Regions from separate parts of the Homo sapiens genome. Here region 2 is linked to region 1. The links are contacts of gene promoters, found by promoter capture Hi-C in blood cells and fetal thymus (Javierre and others, 2016). All regions are on one chromosome and are shown on one strand. The core of a region is centred on a gene start or on the middle of the fragment in contact, and the rest is flanking DNA. Distances in the headings are between cores, read along the strand shown.

Region 1 (3,810 bases), core at 979-3,478:
TCTCAAAAAAAAAAAAAAAAAAGTGTTCACTATTAGAAATACACTTTAATTAAAATGCTTGTACATATATTTTTTTGCCACATCTCTGTCATAGTTTCCCTAGAGTTGATGGCCAGAAATGGAATTACTGAATCAAGGAGTATAAACATTTTTTAGCCTTTTAAAAATTGTGGTACAGTTTTTAAAACTGTGTGTACAGTTCAGTGGCATTAAGTACATACACATAGTTGTGAAATCAAAGTATAAACATTTTATTTTATTTGAGACAGGGTCTGGCTCTGTCTCCCAAGCTGGAGTGCAGTGGTGTGGTCACTGTCACAGCTCACTGCAACCTCGACCTCCCTCCCAGCAATCCTTTCACCCGGCCTACTTAGTAGCTGGGACCACAGGCCTGCACCACCATGCCCAGCTAATTTTGGTAGAGACAGGGTTCTTACTATGTTGCCAAGGCTGGTCACAAACTCCTGGGCTCAAGCCATCCTCCTGCCTCAGCCTCCCAGAGTGCTGGGGTTACAGGTGTGAGCTGCCACGCCCGGCCCAGAGTAAAAACATTTTAAACATAAATCTGCGGTCTGTTCTTAGCACCTGCGGCTGCGTGGGAGGTATGGAAAGGCGCACTTTGGGTTTCGTGAAATCTCAAGTCAGGTCTTGACTTCTCTCTTTCCACAGATTCATCTCTAGTCTCTGTAAAATGCCAGCCCTCTTCTGGGTTAACAGCGCCTAACCGACATGCGCCACTAGTTCTTCCTTGTTTCAAAGTGTTCTCTAAACACAGAGTTAGTTCATGTTTTCATCAGCGCTGATTACGTACATATGAGATGTGGCGGACACTGGGCTAGGGGCTGGTTATTCTCTAAGGCAAATCTGCACAGTCACTCCAGCCTGTCCCCCTTCCCAGCTTCTTCCCCAAATAACATTCACAGAGTGTCTTCCACCCAAAGACAGCAGGGAACAGCCCCGATTCCTAAGAAACCCTCAGCGCGCCTCCTCACAAACTCTTGGCTGCTCCATAAACCATTGGTGTAGGTGGAATCAAGTGGCTTCCTGCTTCACAGGTCTTCGTCTTTACCACTGGCATTTCCTCCTCTCGGAAAACCCTGAGGAGTCCCTTTCTGGGCAGTCTTGATTCTACAGCCTCCGCCTTCCGAAGTGTGTGAGTCAGCACACGCTAAGATCACTTTTGATATACAGTGGGCATTCAATAAAAGCTTGCTTACTAAAAACTCTCACGTATCCATTAAAGCCCAGGATTACAGAAAAGCCTTCTGACACTATTTGCATTTTGGACTCAAATGGCATCAGTAATGCACCTCCCTAATGGGTTTATTAAACCCTTAAACAACAAAGGTACTACTTTTATTTCACTCCTACATGATATACAGTAGCTCTACGCACACAAACAAGACCTAATGTTTACTTAATAAATGATAAAGTCAGATGTAATGAGTCTGCAACACGCACATCTCAGAGCGAACTTCCCCTTTATCATAGCACTATGCTTGGATATTGTCATATAATTGTTGTCATCCAGCAGTCCAGAATTGAAAGTGCTTGGGCTTGAATATTTAGCAGCGCCTTAGTTTTCTAGAACCTGTGATCTACCAACTCGATCCCTGGGTGAACCATTCGGCCCTCCTAGCAGGAATTACTTAACTGAGTTAGAGGTTTTCAACTTTGGACCTCAACAAACACATTGTTTCTATCACGGTGTTCCCAATGACTCACGAGGTCAGATAGTACTTCCTGATTACTCACCAAACCACCTTACTTTTTGCACAATTCGAAACCTAACTTTAGGAAAGAAGGCCGTTTGGCATACTGGAAACAAGAAACAACGCGTGCTACTGCGAACCGCACCGCACGGGGTGCGGAGACTTGGTGTGACTGTCGGCTCCGGTGGGCGCCCCCCACCGCACCCGGTTTCTCGTCACCAGGGCTGCGCCGCGGGGCAGAGCGGAACGACCGCAATATCCCTCCCCGAGGGCGCTGGCTGCACTAGCTAGTCCACTCCCGAGCCTAGCAGCGCCGTCAGGCCCACAGCGCCAACGCCGCGCAGGGCAAGGGTGCAGCCACTGGCGGGAAAGTAGTACGCGGGCCACTTCCTGGCTAGGACTACAGGGACCTTTGCAGCCCCCCACCCCGCAGCGCCCACGCACCTGCCTAGAGGATCCAGCTAGCTCCGGACGCTCCCCGATTCCGCGCTCCTTGCTCGCGGTACTTCCGTAATCTAGGCTCTCCCTGCCCCCGGGGCTGGGCGGGCGCCACTGCGCCGGAACCCCGCCCCGCACCAGGCGGGCGCAGCGTCCCAAGCAGGGACGATAGCCGGAACGCGCCCGGAATCGGGTCCGCCAGGTGGGGAGCGGGTCCCCGGCCTCTGGCGGGGTTTCTCTTCCAAGATCAGCCGGAGGGTTCAGGGCTTTCAGTTTCATATTTCAGGAGGGATTTTGTCAATGAGGATTAATACAAAGCTCGGCTTTGAGAGAGGTGGGTGGATGGTGCTGTCCTTTAACTGAGAAATGGAAGGGATTCACAAGGCCGGGAAAGAAGAAAATTTCGGGAAAGTTCGTGGAAACAGGAGAGTGAGATAATAAATTTACTTTAAGCCTTCCTGCGTTTGAAATTCGTGACAGTGTAACTAGTTGGAAATATATTTATCTGCCATTCAAGAGAGGCAGGGGGCTGGAGATACAGATCTGAGATTCACTGAAATGGGAATAAAGCAATGGGGAAGATTCAGATTTTTAGGATACTGAATAAAATGAGAATAGAAAGGATAGAGTAGAGAATACAGTGGAAAGGGTATGGGGTTGAATCCTGACTCCACAATTTATTACCAAGGGGGCTGGGGACAAGGTAATTTACCAAGTTTCATCATTACAACCTACTCTATAGGGTTGTCTAAGAAACAACAAGAGATTCTGGGGGAGGAGAGAGACTGATTCCTAGAGTTACCACATCGTAATGCTCAAAATGTCCAATCTTCAACAAAAAATTATGAGGCATGCAAAAAAAAAGGCGAAAAAATGGCCAATTCAAAGGAAAAAAGAAATGAACAGAAATTGTCCCTGAGCTGAGGAAGCACAGACATAGGAATTATTAGACAAATACTTCAAATAAACTGTCTTAAACATGGACAAAAAGTGAAAGGAAACATAGAAAAATAACTGAAAGAAACAACCAGGAGAACAAAGTCTCAATAAATAGAGAATATGCAATAGAAGATGTGCAAATGGTCAACAAGCATGAAAAAAAGCCCAGCATAACTAATTATCAGAAAAGTGCAAATTAAAACTGCAATGAGATACCATCTTACACCAGTCAGAATGGTTATTATTAAAAAGTCAAGGAACAACAGATGCTGGCAAGGCTTTATTGAAAAGGAAATGCTTATACACTGTCAGTGGGAATGTAAATTAGTTGAACCACTGTGGAAACCAGTTTGAAGATTTCTCAAAGTGCTGAAAACAGAACTGCTATTCAACCCAGCTATCCCATTACTGGGTACATATTCAAAACAAGAGAACTCATTCTACCAAAAAGACACATGCACTAGTATGTTCGTCACAGCACGCTTCACAATAGGAAAGACATGGAATGAACTTAGGTGCTCATCGACAATGGACTGGATAAAGAAAATGTGGTACATTTGCACCATGGAATACTACGAAGCCATAAAAAGAATGAATGGAATCATGTCCTTCACAGCAACGTGACTGCAACTGGAGGCCATTGTCGTAAGTGAATTAATGAAGGAACAGAAAACCAAATACCACATGTTCTAATTTGTAAGTGGGAGCTAAACACTGGGTA
Region 2 (3,810 bases), core at 919-3,418, 1.1 Mb before region 1:
GTGACAAATGTGAGCTAAGAATGACTATATGAGACATAACAAATGCTAGATATTTAACTAAATGTTAACTGGCCTCCTAAATCATAAAACATCTTTTTAAAAATACATGACTTAAATCTCTTTAAAAAGGTGTCTCAGAAGGTCTGACTTGATCCCACTTTTTCTCAGTAACTTTCTGTCACATACAGTCATTGACAATGACTTCAGAGGTATACTAAATTGAAGTGATGTGATCTCGGCTCACTACAACCTCCGCCTCCCGAGTTCAAGCGATTCTCCGGCCTCAGCCTCCTGAGTAGCTGGGATTACAGGCGTCTGCCACCACGCCCAGCTAATTTTTATATTTTTAGTAGAGACGGGGTTTTGCCACGTTCGCCAGGCTGGTCCCAAACTCCTGACCTCAGGTGATCTGCCCACCTCAGCCTCCCAAAGTGCTAGGATTACAGGCGTGAGCCACCGCACCCAGCCAGAGGTATACTACAATTTATGAACATTCTTTTTGACACCAAAGCTCCCCGGAGTAGAAGTGAGATATTAGGAGTCTATTGGTTAGGGTTCTTATTGGATTAATAATTTATTAGTTTATGGCTTTCTTATCATGTTTCCTTTCATTTTCCTTGTTCTCTCCTCTCCTTCAATCTTTCTTCCCACCCAACTTCCAAACAATGTCGAGGGTACTCCTAAAGCGGAAAATACACAAAAGCATGGCCTTTCACAACATCTTTCCAAATGCAGGAAAGTGTTACTATACATAAATGGTGTCCCTTTATCCTACTGATAATATAAAATACAAGTTGTTTGAATAGAATAAGAGGCTTTGGTCATTACATTGCTTGTCATTTTGAGTTTTCAGATTTTATTCTTTGTTCTCTAAAAATACCAACTGGTGGAGACACCTTCCCACCAAAAGCAGAGAAAAACATCTGAAGAAGTGGACATAAACATGCCAAAAAGTACAAATGATAGACTGTTCATTAAACAAAGCATTATTAATCATTAAAAACTGCCTGTTAGTGCATACAATAAAATTTGTTCCTAATTATTGATTCTTACCCTGATATGGCGCCATATCTTTTGACCAAAGAGTCTCTGTTCCGTATTGAGTTTCATCATATAAAAATTTAACTTCTGTCGCCCCAGCATCTTCTGCATTCTGAATTAATTCCTAACCAAAAAATATACCAAAAAATAGTAATTAATAACACAGTAATCTACTGCTCATCTTTGTATTTATCTATAATATTTAAGAAGTTAATATACTTAAATAAAGGAAACCCACTATTTGCAACATTACCTTTAAGATCTGGTGAGGCTACTACTGAAAGTAATTGTTACATAGATGTGACAGTATGGTTGAAAAGTCCTTCTCCAATTATTTGCACTTAAATTTTGTCTTTTAATTTGCTATCACTTAGCAAATTAATCCTGGGCCCTATTTATAACTGTCTCATATTTACAATCTACCCAAAGCTTTTGTTCAAAGGAAATTATTCTATTTCCAAAAGCTGCACATATCGTCCTGTGTGGCAGGTAACTTAAGCTTGAGTGATTGCCAAAAATAGACCTTTTTTATCCTTTGCTTACTAAACTTACCTTTCCACAGAAAAACAATAAAACCAAATAGTAGCAATCTATATATACCCTTCAATTGGCTGCTTTCTTGAGAGCCTGAGATATAAAAATGTCTTTGTCCTGCACTAAACTGAAAGCTTCCAGATGGTCAGGACTGACTCATTCCTTTCATCAAGAAGAAAGCACTACCATTTGTTTGGTGAATGGTGGGTGAGTGGAAGGGTGACCAGCTCCCCGTAATGTAGAAAGGAAAGGGCAAACTGCAAGATTTGCCTCAACAAAATTTCCAATCCTAACAACCCCAATCACTTCTGCACACCTACTAAAATCACGCTGGGCTCCGTTCAGTTTGAAGGGAGCTCCAGAATCTGAATCAAGAATCAGCTCCTAGATCCAACCCCATGATCATCAAAAGAGCTTTTTTACTTCCCCAGAGCCTTGGGATCACTAAATTGGAGGTACAGATGGGCAAAAATTGAAGAGCACTTTAACTGATACTACAACAATGTCAACAGTGATGCCTACATCAGAGTAGAGAGGTGGTACGATGACTACATGAAACAAAATAACTACAAGGAGACTGAGGGAGCAGAAGTGAAAAGTCAGTTCTGAGATTGTGCTCAGTTCACCCAGTGCATCCCAAAGGGCTGGAGTGTGGTACCCACCAGCTGTTCCACCCCAAACATGAACAGCTAAGTCGTGCCTCCTGCAGCCTCATTATCAGCTAGTGATTCTTCCTTGTTACGTAACTAACTATTTCTCATGGGATTTTAATTTTTTAGGCCTCATTCAATCCCAGAGAATCCCTAAAAATTAACAATCTTATTTACATTAGGATATTATAATAATATGAAGGATGGAAATAAGAATTAAATAGGTAGTGAAAAACAATGTTAACTTACAAAATGATAGCACTTTAGATGTTCGACCTTGTTTTCATTCAGGTATCTATTTATTATTTATGTGTACTTTAGGGAGCAGAGAGGCAGAAAACTAAAGATAAAATCTAAGTCCCAGGTTCCACTCATTCTCAAGTTGAATAAAAAATAGGATAGGAAGCTTTTCCCCTAAATTGCAATCCTGAGAGATTGTTTGTAAACTAACTCTGGGAAACAGCAACAATACATTTTGTATTTGGTCTTGGGCAAGCCACTAAGATCTCTGGACCTGTTTCAGCAAACACAAATACCATAGAAGGTGGTGGTGTAGGTCTTGGTGATTTCTAAGACTCCTATTAAATCTAAAACAGTCTAATTCTACCACAACATCCAAGGAACAAAGATTACATTGAACTGGCTACAATACAAATATATCTATAAGCAAAGCAGAAGGCGCGTAGCCCTCAGCTGTTTGCCATAGACCTTTCTCATTTCTCAGCAAGGATCCCACTCGCTCACTTCTAAACAGATGACAACCTACTCCTGTTACCACTATACCTTTATTTTAAATGTATTCTATTCACTTCTTTCTACCCCAAAACCACCTCGTAGCAATACTCTTTCCATCCTCACTTTCCTAATAAGTCAATACAAAAACTGTTTTTGAATTCGCTTTCTGTGAACCACTGGTGCCTATGCTGAAAGATGGACTGCTCCAACAGCCCAGTCTCACCATGATCACTAAAGACACAACAGTCCTCAGTGAGTGCCTACCTGAGCATGACTCTCTTAAATTAAAGAGACCTAGTCCTGATTCCCTCACAGTTTACAATCTAAACTAGAAAATATAACCAGGGCCAAGATACTGAAGGTAATAAACACTAAACAAGCTAATGGGAAGGAAAATGCATAACAACTGGTCTACTTTGACAATTAAGGAAGTTTCTTATTAAACACAAAATCTAATTTTTGCAGTATCTCCCATTATTGCTTTCTTTGATGATTATTGGTTTTTCTTTTTTTGTTGTTTTATTGTTTGTTTGTTTTTTGAGACGGAGTGTGGCTCCTGCTGCCCAGGCTGGAGTGCAGTGGCGCAATCTCGGCTCACTGCAATCTCTGCCTCCGGGTTCAAGCGATTCTCCTGCCTCAGCCTCCTGAGTAGCTAGGATTACAGGCAGCCACCACCATGCCTGGCTAATTTTTGTACTTTTAATAGAGACGGGGTTTCGCCAAGTTGGCCAGGCTGGTCTCGAACTCCTGACTTGAGGTGATCCACCCGCCTCAGCCTCCCAAAGTGCTGGGATTACAGGCATGAGCCACTGCGCCCAGCCTGTTTTTTAAAGAGTATAATCAAACTAAA

The links. Contacts are between HindIII fragments. The CHiCAGO score rates a contact against its expected background, and 5 or more counts as called.
Region 2: a contact is called between a fragment that was not itself captured here and the fragment with the promoter of PARP4 in region 1, in 1 of 17 cell types (non-activated CD4 T cells). The highest score is 6.0, in non-activated CD4 T cells.

Annotation. Positions count from the first base shown.
Region 1 is chr13:24,510,550-24,514,359 of GRCh38, forward strand. It overlaps PARP4 (poly(ADP-ribose) polymerase family member 4), which reads right to left and starts at 2,229. Exons shown (of 34, transcript NM_006437.4): 1 at 2,157-2,229. All of the region lies in intron 1 of LOC105370117 (a long non-coding RNA gene), which reads left to right. RefSeq lists a silencer at 2,227-2,386. The HindIII fragment of the contact is 3,630 bases long and covers 1,207-3,810 here.
Region 2 is chr13:23,364,113-23,367,922 of GRCh38, forward strand. It overlaps SACS (sacsin molecular chaperone), which reads right to left. Exons shown (of 10, transcript NM_014363.6): 6 at 1,054-1,165. Among named protein-coding and RNA genes, the nearest start is that of SACS-AS1, 53 kb to the right of the region's middle. The HindIII fragment of the contact is 922 bases long and covers 1,708-2,629 here.